Regions from separate parts of the Homo sapiens genome. Here all the other regions are linked to region 1. Evidence: promoter capture Hi-C in 16 types of primary human blood cells and fetal thymus (Javierre and others, 2016). All regions are on one chromosome and are shown on one strand. The core of a region is centred on a gene start or on the middle of the fragment in contact, and the rest is flanking DNA. Distances in the headings are between cores, read along the strand shown. Region 1 holds the start of SGK1 (serum/glucocorticoid regulated kinase 1). Region 2 holds the start of LINC01010 (long intergenic non-protein coding RNA 1010). Region 3 overlaps SGK1 (serum/glucocorticoid regulated kinase 1).

The links. Contacts are between HindIII fragments. The CHiCAGO score rates a contact against its expected background, and 5 or more counts as called.
Region 2: a fragment that was not itself captured here is called in contact with the fragment with the promoter of SGK1 in region 1 in 1 of 17 cell types (neutrophils); the score reaches 6.4 in neutrophils.
Region 3: a fragment that was not itself captured here is called in contact with the fragment with the promoter of SGK1 in region 1 in 1 of 17 cell types (M1 macrophages); the score reaches 5.0 in M1 macrophages.

What each region holds. Positions count from the first base shown.
Region 1 is chr6:134,315,277-134,319,974 of GRCh38, reverse strand. It overlaps SGK1 (serum/glucocorticoid regulated kinase 1), which reads left to right and starts at 1,863. Exons shown (of 14, transcript NM_001143676.3): 1 at 1,863-2,583. The coding sequence starts at 2,515. RefSeq lists an enhancer at 2,036-2,315. The HindIII fragment of the contact is 10,717 bases long and covers 1-4,698 here.
Region 2 is chr6:134,437,119-134,441,734 of GRCh38, reverse strand. The region is part of intron 4 of CT69 (cancer/testis associated transcript 69); the gene reads left to right. It overlaps LINC01010 (long intergenic non-protein coding RNA 1010), which reads right to left and starts at 4,019. Exons shown (of 3, transcript NR_038217.1): 1 at 3,854-4,019. RefSeq lists an enhancer at 3,973-4,032. The HindIII fragment of the contact is 8,426 bases long and covers 1-4,616 here.
Region 3 is chr6:134,188,961-134,193,647 of GRCh38, reverse strand. The region is part of intron 3 of SGK1 (serum/glucocorticoid regulated kinase 1); the gene reads left to right. Among named protein-coding and RNA genes, the nearest start is that of SGK1, 130 kb to the left of the region's middle. The HindIII fragment of the contact is 3,339 bases long and covers 1-3,066 here.

The sequences.
Region 1 (4,698 bases), core at 614-3,113:
CTGGGGAGGCCTCAGGAAACTTACAATCAGAGCAGAAGGGGAAGCAAACACATTCTTCTTCACATGGCATCAGGAAGGGGAAGTGCTGAGCAAAAGGGAGAAAAGCCCCTTATAAAACCATCAGATCTCATGAGAAATCACTCACTGTGGGAACTACAATTCAAGACGAGATTTGGGTGGGGACACAGCCAAATGATATCAACCAGTATGCATGCTAGGCCAATGTGGGATTAAGCAAAGCCCCAGCACCTCCTTCCTAGCAGAGTGCTTAAAGGTCCCCTCCTGTATATTACTCAAATTCAATAAATGTCTGTTAAAACACTTTTGGGGGAGTGGCAATGGGACGAAAAAGAAAGAACTTGAATGACCATCATTTTTTAAAATGAGGTCCATTGAGGTATAATTTACATGCAGCAAAAGTTTCCCTTTTCCTATATAAAATTTGATGAGTTCTGACAAATGCATAGTTATGTAACCACCACCATCATCATGATAGAGAACACTTCCATCGTCTCAAAATAATTCCCTTTGAACTACCATAATTTTAAATGAACTCTTTAGAAGAACCACAAAAACTTATCAATGTTGTAGATTACATAACATATACTTGCATCTTGGACAACTTAACATATCTCTCCAAAATGAATAGTTGTTTTCCCTTGGTTATCATGCCATCATTTAGTTGTATTGCATTTTCTTTTTGGAAACCTCAAGGCATTTAGCAAACAGGATTTCATGTTTATTCCCAAAAACTCTGGCCCAACTGTAGAGATTTATAGTCCAATTCAATGAAACCCATGCATTTCTTTCCCAGTTTAACCTGATGTTTCTCTTCTTACCAGAGACTTCCATGTAAATACTTTAACAATGTTAGGTGTGTTATATATAATGAGGTCATAATCAGTTTCAAATTAGCATTGCGCCTTTCACTTATTTATCAATTATATTCCCTTGTGATGATTATGAAAAGGCTCCACATCCTGAGGACACTTGTCAGAGTTAGATTTATTAATGGAATGAAATAGCAAATAATGAATGACTAAATAAATGAATGAGTGAATGAATGAATGAGTGGCTGCCTCCATTTTATGGATGAGGCAGTGTCCGAAAGGCACAGTGAGGTCAGGTGATGGCAGAAAGCCACACACCGATGTTGGTGGCTTTCTGCCAGGTCAGATGCCAAGTTTATTTTCTTTGCTTTCTTGCTTTACTATCAACTAATCTTTAAAATCATTCCCATAAAATATCAACATTAAAGAATAAAAATGGAAAAATAAGCCACATACAATTAAATGGCTTTTTTAAAAGGAGCTCAGTGTGCAAAGGATAACATGAGTAAGGATTTTTTGGGAAATTTTTCACCTAATAGGAAGAATGCTTTACTCTTTTATTTATCAAACCTTCCTCATCATTAAATGGATTCAGTAGTACTTTTTGGTAATAACTCGTGTGTGTGTGTATGTGTGTAATAAAGTACTTTGTATATGTTCATTGTGTTCTTTTTTTAATAAGCTGTTTTAATGAAAAAGACACAATTACCGTCACCATTGCCCACTATATAATGACAAGTAGGGGAGGGGAGGCTAAAAGAGCTTCTACATAGTGAGAGATCTTCCATTGTTATACCTACGCTTGCACTTTATTTCATTTTCTTCCACGTTTGGACAGGTCGAGATTAAATGTGATTACATTTCCGTTGAGAGGCTTTTATTCAGCAACAGGATTCAAAAGAATGTCAATGAGCATAAAATAAAAACGGTGTGCAATTTATATGAAACTCTGATTTAAATGGTCCTAACCAAAAAAAAAAAAAAAGAAAGAAAGAAAAGAAGCTATTTAAAGTAACCCTCCCAAGGGGAGTCAACTGCTCTTCAGTGTGCCCTGAGCCGGCTGTGCCTTCTCTCCATCCGCTGCTCAGATATTCATGAACCGTTGCTTCTTCCAGCCTCGCCTTCTCGCTCCCTCTGCCTTTCTGGCGCTGTTCTCCCTCCCTCCCTCTGGCTTCTGCTCTTTCTTACTCCTTCTCTCAGCTGCTTAACTACAGCTCCCACTGGAACTTGCACAATCAAAAACAACTCTCCTCTCTCAAGCCGCCTCCAGGAGCGCATCACCTGGAGAAGAGCGACTCGCTCCCCGCGCCGGCCGCGGAAGAGCAGCCAGGTAGCTGGGGGCGGGGAGGCGTACCCTTCTCCCGCTCGGTAAGAGCCACAGCATCTCCCCGGAGATTGGCCGTATCCCACCGTCCGGCCCCCAGGGTCCTGCAGCGGTGATGCATATGTTTCGGAGCAATGATGGAAGGAGAAAAGCCGCTGTCGGTGGCAACTGAAAGTGGGGAGAGGTTGCTGCAGTAGCTGGTGCTGCAGAATGCGCGAGTGAAGAACTGAGCCCCGCTAGATTCTCCATCCCGCTCAGTCTTCATTAACTGTCTGCAGGAGGTAAACCGGGGAAACAGATATGCACTAACCAGGCGGGTGCCAACCTGGATCTATAACTGTGAATTCCCCACGGTGGAAAATGGTAAACAAAGACATGAATGGATTCCCAGTCAAGAAATGCTCAGCCTTCCAATTTTTTAAGAAGCGGGTAAGGACAGGTTTTGCTTATTTCTTTTGTTTTCTGTGCTTCTCTTAAATGCTTTTGAATGTTTGCCTGAAGTAAGCCTGAGGTTTTGTTGCTAAACCCTTAATGTAAGCCGTGCTTCTGATGGCAGTGGTAAAGCTGAGAACTATACCTGACTTGATTAGAATTTGTTGGAGGAGGGGCAGGGGGCTATGAAGAGTTGCATTGGGAGGAGGGGGTTGGGCTGAGATGCCTTAAACGGGTTTGAGCTGGGAATGGGGATTTTTCTCTCTCAAGCCACAACAAAGATTACAAGGCAGTCGCAAAGAGAACTGGCTTGAGTACAATTATGGCTAGTAATTTAGTCAGGGGCTAATTTAGCAGCTTCCTCTCATCTTTGAAGGGTTCAACTTTTCTACACCTTTCATCCACTCAGTCTCAAGTGATGCATTATCATCTTCGTTCGTCAGAAGCAGCAGCTTCTGGTTTCCCAAATCCATTCAGCCAATAATTTGCTGTGTCTCTATCTGTGGTATAAATAGCAAAGGAGTAGAATGACCTTTTACAGAAATGATGGAATCCAGCATTTAAAATTGTCTATTTTAAGTTGCCTCAATTTTTGCTTTTGCTTAGAATAACTGCCTTTTTTTTTTTTTTTTTTTTTTTTTTTTTGGGAGAGAGCAGTGGGAGGTCTGTATTTGAGTGATAATTCAGGGTTATGTTGCTGTATGCATTTATTTCTTAAACTCCTTATTCTTCAACTCAAAGTATGAATAATGTTGCATTGGTTGTAGGTGAGAAAAAAGGATTTTTTTGCATGTATATTTCACAATAAACTCAGTTCACTGGGATGGCCACACTGGTGGTCTGTGTAAATCTGCAAATTTATACACAAGCGGGAGGTAAGAAATGAATGATTGTTAAAGGAATGACACTGACACTCTTAAGGACAGTGTTTCCTAAGCAACGTAAGAGAAGGAACATCCTCCAGTCCCCAGTTGCCCCATCCTATTTAATACCCTAGGGCAATTCCACCAAAATGGTTCTCTCCATTCATTCCTCCTTCCTTTCATTCAGGTCCTTTCTGTGCCACTCCTGAAACACAGCCCTTCAGTTAACTCATCCGCAGAACACAGTGAATTTCAGGGTGGGCTGGACTATCTCCCTGCACCAAATGGGCAAGCTGGGAAGGCAAGGCTAGAAATGCAGGCAACATGTCAGGCCCAGCTAGAGGGCCAGCGAAGGCTCCCAAGCACCCTTGACTGAGTTCTCATCAGTAAAGCAAAATCTTTCTCCAAGTCTGTGGGCCAAAGCATATGCATTCAAACCAAAATGAAACCAACCTGTCCTGGCCCCTGCTCTTGGAGTGGGAGTACCATGTGAAATCTCACTAGTGAGCTGCAAGCTAAGTGAAAGCAAGTCAGTGCAACTTCACAGAGCTCCACAAGGCTTCTTAGTTTTTCTCTGTAGCTAAAATATTTCTTTCCAAGGGAAGAGCCCTTTATGAAAATTAATTTTCTTTCTTTCTTTTTCTTTTTTTTAGAGACGGGGTCTTGCTATATTGCCCAGGGTGGTCTTGACCTTTTGGGCTCAAGTGGTCCTCCTGCCTCAGCCTCCCAAATTGCTGGGATTACAGATGTCCACCACCAGGCCCAGCCCTAATTTTCAATAATAAACAAATGTTTTGCTAATTTTAAAAATGCCATAGCCCATTATCCAGTATTTAAACTCTATTGCCTTTTAATTACTGTATTTATTTCATGGTATTGGGGATATTCTAAAACTCCTCAGTCAGATGTTCTTAAGCAATGTAGATTTAAGTTACATAAATTTTAAATTGTCTTTTATTTTCTTTGTTATCAAAATGTACTAATAGAAATACTAATTTGCCATTTGGTTTTGTTTTGCTTAAAAGCAAGTTTACCAATAGACTTCAGTTGGTGACTCTGCAGACCTTGAATTTTGCAGAGAACCACCCAGGGTACTGATGTCTTATCTGAGTACATGCAGAAAGAAGTTTCTACCAAGATAACTGGCAGGCAGCTTCATCTAACTTCTAACCTGGGTCTATCAGTTGCTGGAGACAGGATCAGACATCTCTCCTGCCCCTGCGCTCTCCTTACTCCTCAAGGACAGTTA
Region 2 (4,616 bases), core at 536-3,035, 120 kb before region 1:
TTCCTTTTACCAATAAGAAACATTCTCCTCACCCACCACCTAAATGTTTTTACCACTCACTAACTCTCTTGGGGAAAGAGAAGAGTAATTCTTTCCCATTATCTAATTTAGTAAATGGTGCCTAGGATCAGAAACCAGGCTGCTGCAATAAGGTGGATTGTTTTTCTCTTGTTATCAATCCCTGTTGTTCATTGTGACAAGCCAAAAAGGTAATGAAAATCCAAAGATAAATTTTGTTTGAACTACATTTAGCAAAACTAAGTTAACAGATTTAGAAGCAGATAACCATTATGAAATAATCTTATAAGACATATAAGCAAAACCAAATATGAGGGCCGAGGCGGTCGCTCATGCCTATAATCCCCGCACTTTGGGAGGCCGAGGCAGGTGGGTCACTTGAGGACAGGAGTTCAAAACTAGCCTGGCCAACATGGTGAATTCCTGTCTCTACTAAAAATACAAAAGTTAGCTGGATGTGGTGGCACACGCCTGTAATCCCAGCTACTCAGGAGGCTGAGGCAGGAGAATCACTTAAACCTGGGAGGCGGAGGTTGCAGTGACCCAAAATCATGCCACTGCACTCCAGTCTGGGCGACAGAGCAAGACTCGGTCTCAAAACAAAAAACAAAAACAAAATAAACAAAAAATATGAATGAGTTCCAATATCTTCACATAGGGATATCAAGATACTAAATTGAAAATTCCTTAAAGGTTTGTCTTTAACTTACCGGGTAAGTCCTAGACCAGTGGTCCCCAACCTTTTTGGCATCACGGACCAGTTTCATGGAAGGCAATTTTTCCACAGATGGGACTGGGGTGGGGTGGGATGTGGGGGATGATTTCAGGTTGAAACTGTTCCACCTCAGATCATGAGGCATTGATTCTTGTGAGGAATGCGCAAGCTAGATCCTTCACCTGCACAGTTCACAGTAGGGTTTGCACTCCTTTGAGAAGCTAATGCTACCACTGATCTGATAAGAGGCGGAGCTCAGGCTGTAATGCTTGCCCCCTGCTCACTTCCTGCTGTGTGGCTTGGTTTCTAACAGGCCACAGACTGGTACCGGTCAGCGGCCTGGGGATTGAGGACCCCTGTCCTAGATGTTTGATATGGTGCCTACAGAATGCTAGTGTAATTCAAGAGTCGATTTTAAGCAATATTTCTTTGCCACTATAGGCAAGATCCTGAGCAAGGCATTACAACTACATGTAATTCAGGAAATATAAAATAACCTATTCTTTTTTTTTTTTTTTTTTTTTTGAGACATAGTCCAACTCTGTCACCCAGGTCAGAGTGCAATGGCATGATCTCGGCTCACTGCAGCCTCCACCTCCCAGGTTCAAGCGATTCTTCTGCCTCAGGCTCTCAGGTAGCTGGATTTACAGGCGCACGCCACCATGCCTGGCTAATTTTTTGTGTTTTTAGTAGAGACGGGGTTTTGCCATGTTGGCCAGGTTGGTCTCGAACTCCTGGCCTCAAGTGATCCACCCGTCTCGGCTTCAACCTATTCTTTTTGAACACCAGAAATACGCTAAGGATTCATTTTGAGCCATAATCTAACTTTGAATCTAAGGTACGACGACCCAGTTGGCTTAGAATATAGCTCTAATAAAGTATTGTTCTTTTATGCATCCCTGACAGTGAAAAAGTTTGTGAATATCTTGAGCACTAGAGAGATAAATGAAAATGTGAGTGTACAAAATCCAACCTCAAAATGAGAACACAGCCCTGAGCACAGGTCCTGAACAAAAAGCAGAACATCTTTTTGTCAGCCTCACACCTCCTCTAAACCCCAATTTAGAATAGGTTTGGTATGAAGATCAAAATAGATTAACTGTATGGAGAATCTGTAAACCCAAAATAGATTAACTGTATGGAGAATCTGTAAACCCAAAACACCATAAAGGTGTAAAGTGGTATAATTATTATTACTATATGTTTTTACACACCAAAAACCACAGAGTCGGCTTCTGTACAGCTCACAGTGTGAAAAGGTGTGTTTCTTCTTCCAGAAAACATTAAAATTGGTCAATATATGACTTTTTAATCTTCTTATGGTTAATCCAAGTGAATTGTAATTTTCCTCCATGGTAAGGGTTATATTTTCCCCTTTATTTCTGGAATCTTTTTGCTTTTCCTTTCTTCTTTTTCTCTGTCTCTGTATATGTCTCTGTCTTTTTGTTTTTTAAACAAACACCCTCCTTTCCGCAGAAAGCCTAAGGGCCATTATTATTGTTGTTCAAGGGGAAAAGTGGCTCCCAAATGTCAGGCTCAATTCTCTGGCTTTCTTCCTCTTCCAATCTTTGTCCCAAGATGCCTCACTGCATTGTTACTGTTCCAAAGTAAAACCAATCAGTTCTTTAAAAATCTTCTGAATGCCCATAATTTCATGTACTTAGTTTACTATCAGTCACTACATGATACACTTTTAATTTGGCAAATTTAATGTGACAAATTAATTGGACAAATTTAATGTGATGGTCAAATCATCTTGAGCTACGCAATTCAAAATAATAATTTGGATAGGCCTTAGTTTACTTTTCCCCATTTTTCTCTAACAGTGTTCAACAGTTTCGTATCTGCCAAACCTGAGAAAATTCTTCATAAAATTTCAGAGCTTTTGAGCCTCTTTGAAGTGGCAATATCCACAGGGGACCCGATGTGCTCAGCTAACTTGGTAACCTGACCCTATATCCCTGCATACCCAGACCTCTCTATTCGTTTCTCCCGGGCGAATCCCACCTCAGCCCCCAACTCTGAGTAGCTCAGACTACAAGCACAAGCCACCATGCCTGACTGATTTTTGTATTTTTGCAGAGACAGAGTTTTGCCATTTTGCCCAAGCTGGTCTCAAACTCCTGGGCTCAAGTGATCCAGCCTCAGCCTCCCAAAGTGCTGGGATTACAGGCATGAGCCATTGCACCTGGCCTGTTGGCCAACTCTTAATAGCAATTCTTCTATGCTATAGTGAAATAATTAGAAAAGACTACATCCCTAAATATTTTAGGATGCATTAATCACTGTCTTTAACTAATAAATTAATTGAATGCAAAGAGTCCATTCTAAAATATCGGGGAATTTTATCCTTCAACACAGACTTTCTACAGTAGTTTTCAAACAGATTTTGAAGTCTTACGTTACAAATTAGAAAGTAGAAACACATTTCTAATCTGATATTAAAACATTTACAGAGGAAATAATTGAAAATGTCTTACCAGATCACTGTCAGAATTGGCAGTACTAGGCAGTCCTCCTGATTTTCATTCCAGAATTATAATGATAAGAAGGTAGATATTTTTAAGAGAACTAAACAGTAAGTTAATCAGCTATAGTATTCTCAGTTTTTTCCCTGAAGTTTTTTCTCATTATCTCATTTACTTTGGGGACCAATAACTTGTCCCCTTTTTGCAAACATGGGCAGAAACAATGAGTACTTTTTCATTTTGCCTCTAATGCTAAACAGTAACTCCTTGAGGCTAGAACTACAGATCCGTTCTCTCTCTAATCCCCAGTTCCTACCACAGTGACTGGTAATAACTTTCAGTAATTATGTGCACGATGCACATTTCCTTGTTAACTAAATATTTTACTTATTTCGATTGTAACCTGTAACTTTTATAGAATCCTTGCAAGGTGACCAGAAAGCTCTTTTTTGAGGAGCATAATTCTTGTTTGCGCTATTTTTTTACTCATGTCTTTTCCTAGTGATGATATTGTCTCTCCAGCACTCTCTCTCCTCCCCTCAACCCGTCCTTCTCCATCCCTGTTTCTGTAATCTCTTTATCCTAATTATAAGCTACTTAATATAGAAAGAAAATAATTGTAACAAAGGGAAAAGTTCCTTAAATGCATTACCTTTTTTCTGAAATTTGCAACAATGGCAGGATTCTTAGTAGGGCTAGCAAGCACCACTTACAGTTCTTAGGCAAAAAACCGAAGCCAAAGGACATCATCTGTCATGGAGAAAGACCCAATAGGGGAGAATATTTCCAAAATTCACATCATCAACAGCAGTATGAAATGAGAGTGATGCTAAGAGTCTGACATATACCAGCATGTAAGGGCCAGTCGCACTAGTGGGTGTCAGAGGTTACTTCTTCATTCATAGCTAAAAAGTGGAAGATGATTCATATGTCTTTGCTACTGATGTAAACAAAACACGGTGGGTGGACAGCACCCCCTGAGGGAGATGGAGATGCTGGTGAGTGGGTCGATAAGGAAGTCACTCTGCCAGCCGCCTCCTTCTTCCCAAATGTGCACAAACTCCACCTTGTAAGGTGTCCAAGGACAATGACTTATTCCACAGCAGGTGCAAACACTCAAGATTTCAGTGAGTGTCAACCTCAAATAGCTTAGGTGCTGAATCTAAATTCCACAATCTGTCGACCTGACATCGTCCTCTCTTCAGGTGTTTATATGGCCCTGGAAAAAGAAATAGTTCCATTACATAAAAGGAATTACAAAAATAATGCACCCAAACTCCAGAGAGTACTTACAGTCTTGCATCATTTTGCAATAGTTTCAGTTTCAGATCTGCATAGAATGTTGACCAGGGATAAGGTTTAACAAATCTTAAGTATGAGCATTTTGGGTCTTTTATTTCCTTAATTTCATTGAA
Region 3 (4,687 bases), core at 148-2,647, 130 kb after region 1:
AAAACAACAGCAACTTCAGTGTGCAGGAAGGAACATAAGAAAATAAAGAGAGAACAGAACAAAGAAGAAAAACAACAGCAACTCACTCTAAGTACTGTGGAAACAAACTGGAAGTGGGGCTAGAAAAAAAACAAAGGGAGAAGATCCCTGTAGTCCCAGCTACTTGGGAGGCTGAGATGAGATCACCTGGGCAAGACCGGGAATTTATTTCAATGTTCAGTATTTGAAGTGTTTTGGTCTTTATTTAGAAGTTATGTGATGTTTTTATGTCCATAAGTATGCAATAGGAAGTTAATTCCTCATTATATCAATTAGCTTATGGTGAAATTGGTTTCCTTATACTTTATTTCACTTAAAGTTACAATATCTAAGAACCTAGCTACCATTTTTAGTGAGGACTTATAACGTACTCCTAAATTAGGTTTTCAGTTTGTGAACATACTAAGCTGAGCTGCAATCAGGTAGAGATTCAAGGAACAGAGGTGACTTCAGGTCAAATTTAGTTTAAAATATGTAAGACATGATATCAGCTTATATGCCTGACTTAGAGAAAATAAATGGAAAAGAAGATTTTTGAACATATGCCCTTAATAACAAGTGTTTTATCTGGTTAAATGTAAACACAATTTTTAACATCTGAAGAAAAATTATTTTATGACTTTAAAATTGTACATAGTAAGGAAAATAGGCCCATAACTAATAATGAAAACAGGCTATTCCAGGAATGAAATGGCCCTCAAAGAGGTGCAGGTGAAGGGTAGGAAATAAGGGGTTAATAGTGGGTGGACCAGGAGGGCGCAGTGGCTCCCGCCTGTAATCCCAGCACTTTGGGAGGCCAAGGCAGGCGGGTCATTTGAGGTCGAGTTTCAGACCAGCCTGGCCAACATGGTGAAAATACAACAGTACAAAAATTAGCCAGGCATGGTGGTGCATGCCTGTAATCCCAGCTACTCGGGAGGCTGAGGTGGGGGAATCGCTTGAACCCGGGAGGCAGAGTTTGCAGTGAGCCAAGATCGTGCCACTGCACTCAAAAGAATGGGGGGAGGGGGGATGGATGGAGGTGGGAGGGAGGTAGGAAGACGAAGGTAAAACCAGGGATGCCAGAGGCAAGAATAGTACTATATTTTAGAGCAGAGGGTCCCCAGCGAATTCAAGAGAGTTGATTGAAGTTGATTCTATCTTACTCTAAAACTCCTTTATTTTGTTAAGGTGTAAATTGACAGTAGAAAGAAAATGCAAAGGATTTAGGAAAAGATTAGCTCAGGCTGGGCTGGAGTCGTTAAAGTAGATGTCAGTGAACAATGCAGCTCACGAAATCCTGACCTTTCCTCTTAAATGAGCGTGGCAGTCAGCATTTCCCACTGATTAAAATTTTGGCTCTTAGGCCGGGCATGGTGACCCACGCCTGTAATCCCAGCACTTTGGGAGGCTGAGGCGGGTGGATCACTTGAGGTCAGGAGTTGGAGACCAGCCCGGCCAACATGGCAAAACCCCATCTCTATAAAAATACAAAAATCAGGGCCGGGCGCGGTGGCTCACGCCTGTAATCCCAGCACTTTAGGACGCCAAGGCGGGCGGATCACGAGGTCAGGAGATTGAGACCATTCTGGCCAACATGGTGAAACCCCGTCTCTACTAAAAATACAAAAATTAGCTGGGCATGGTGGCGGGCCCCGTCCCAGCTACTTGGGAGGCTGAGGCAGGAGCATCCCTTGAAACCCGGAGGTGGAGGTTTCAGTGAGCCGAGGTCACACCACTGCACTGCAGCCTGGTGACAGAGCGAGACTCTGTCTCAAAAAAAAAAAAAAAAAATCAGCCGGGCGTGGTGGCGCATGCCTGTAGTCCCAGCTACTCAGGAGGCTGAGGCAGGAGAATCCATTGAACCCAGGAGGCAGAGGTTGCAGTGAGCCGAGATCACGCCACTGCACTCCAGCCTGGGCGACAGAGTGAGACTTCGTCTCAAAAAAAAAAAAACAAAAACAAAAAAACAAAACACCAAACACTATGCATAGTGTCTGCCACTTAGTATAATCGTTCAAGAAATGTCAGCTATTATAATAGGTGGACTTAACTGTGGAACTTAAAGAGAACATGTTCATTTCGCTGATAGGTATGTCCTTAGCACCACTGTAGTACCCGCCTTGAGAATGTGTAGAAGAGCTACTCCTTAAAAAACCTTCATGAGGATATTTGATCACAGCCTAACGAAGAACTTTAACGATTGATGCTAGTTGACAGTGGTAGAGATGGTTTGGGAAGTAGAGGTGATTCCAGCGAAAGATTAGAGAAAGACCTTAATAAATGGTTGTCAGGAATATTGTATGGGGGAAGGGGGATGTTCCTGTTTCTTAAGATTTTTTTGCCCTTGGTAAAAAGTCTGCTCATGATTTTATGAATAGCATAAAATGAGGCTAGTGGTGAAATACCCCAACTTTCGTGTAGACAGTAACTTTGAACTTTAAAACAAAGAGGGAGAAAAGCATTGAATATGCTGACTATGAACTGTCCTTTATACACATAAACACATGAATACAATAGTGCTAAGGTGAGCAGTGCACAGCATAGCTGTTGGGTTATTTTTAGAAATGGCAAAAATAAAGCCACATGCTTTTACCCAGTCTCTTTGTGAGACAAATAATCAGAAAGCAGTCTGCGAAAATCAGAAAGGATTGCTCTTCGACAAAAACATAATTGGCACATATGAGGAAGATAAGCACTCAGATTCAGTAGTATCATGTTCTAACAAGGCAACCTGTTTTAGACACTTACTATTATTCCTAGAAGTAATCCAGCTAAGTCTAGTGTGTCTGTTACCATCGTATGCCTCTTTCACATCTTATGTAAATGTACTTTCTAATATTTGTAATGTATGTAATATTAATTCTTTAACATTATTTTTAAGAAGAGATAGAAAAGGAATAGCAGTCCTGAGGGATTTTGCAAGGTCCCTTTCAACCTTTTAAAAACCTATAATCCTCAAGAAAATCAAAGCCCTAAGAAAAGATAATGGGAGGTGGGAAGAGAACAGTGACAAGGGGTGTTAAAAACTGTGTATGCCAGGAAGCTTGGCGTGGTGGCTCATGCCTATAATCCCAGTACTTTGGGAGGCTGAGGTGGGTGGATTACTTGAGGCCAGGAGTTCAAGACCAGTGTAGCCAATATGGCGAAACCCTGTCTCTACTAAAAATACAAAAATTAGCCATGCCTGGTGGTGTGCACCTGTAATCCCAGCTACTTGGGAGGCTGAGGCAGGAGAATCACTTGAACCCAGGAGGCGGAGTTTGCAGTGAGCCGAGATCATGCCACTGAACTCTAGCCTGGGTGATACAGCCAGACTCTATCTCAAAAAAAAAAAAAAAAGGAAGGAAGGAAGGAACTATGTATGACAGGGCCCCATTTCTGCTCTTTGATTGTTGTTTTCCCACTATAGAAGGAAAAGTCAAAGGGCCATCAGTTATGAATATAGGAGCAGATTGTAGATATAAAAACAGTACTTAGGGCCAGGTGCAGTGGCTCACGCCTGTAATTCCAGCACTTTGGGAGGCCAAGGCGGGCCGATCACTTGAGGTCAGGAGTTTAAGACCAGCCTGGCCAACATGGTGAAACCATGTCTCTACTAAAAATACAAAAATTAGCCGGGCATGGTGGCGCGTGCTTGTAATCCCAGCTACTCAGGAGGCTGAGGCAAGAGAATCACTTGAATCCGGAAGGCGGAGGTTGCAGTGAGCTGAGATGGTGCCATTGCACTCCAGCCTGGGTGACAGAGTGAGACTCCGTCTCAAAACAAACAAACAAAAAACAACCAAAAAAAACAGTACTTACAATGTGGTAAAGAGAGAAAAGGGAATACTTCTGCTTTTAAAAAGGAAAGTCAGGGCTTATTAAATACCTTGCTAAACTGGATTTATGTCAGTATATAATAAGGTATATAAACAACACGATTTGAAGAATGAACTTTAACTAGGTCTATTGTGATGATCTGTGCTTGTGCTCTAAGGAATTAGATTTTTAAGCAACACTTTATGAGTTGTGAAATAGAATAATTGTAGATACTAATTGATGGAAATAGTCTTATCTATTTGGCACAATCATTTGCTCTAAATAAGTAGAGAGTACGATGTAATTTTAAGCAAAATTGTATAAACAAATAATAAGTAATATTATAGTAGTAGCTTCTTGAAGTAACCATGTTTATGTAGTTTATAAGGTCAGACATTATGTATGATCCCCATCTTTTGCTCACATCTGTTTCATTTATTCTCTGTAATTTTCTTGTGGTCTTATACAAAAGCTTATTTTCATTCTTTTAGATTCCATTTGTATCTTCTGTGAAATGATGATTAGGGAACAAAGTTGGTGTTATCAGACACACAAAAATATATGTGTATATTTATATATACACACATGCACACGCACACGCACACACACACACACACACACACCTGTATAAAAGAGGTAGTTAATATGCAGTATCTGAAATGCTTGGCCCCAAACCATCAAACAATCCTCTGGGGATAACTAATCTTATTTGTTAAAGGGATTCTATAATCACAACTGAGAAACAAATAGTTTTATAAAAAGTGTCTGTAAAAAAAAATTGTCTGGGTTGCGTGAGTGGCTCACACCTGTATCCCAGCATTTTGGGAGACCAAGGTGGGAGGATCACTTGAGCCCAGGAGCTTGAGAC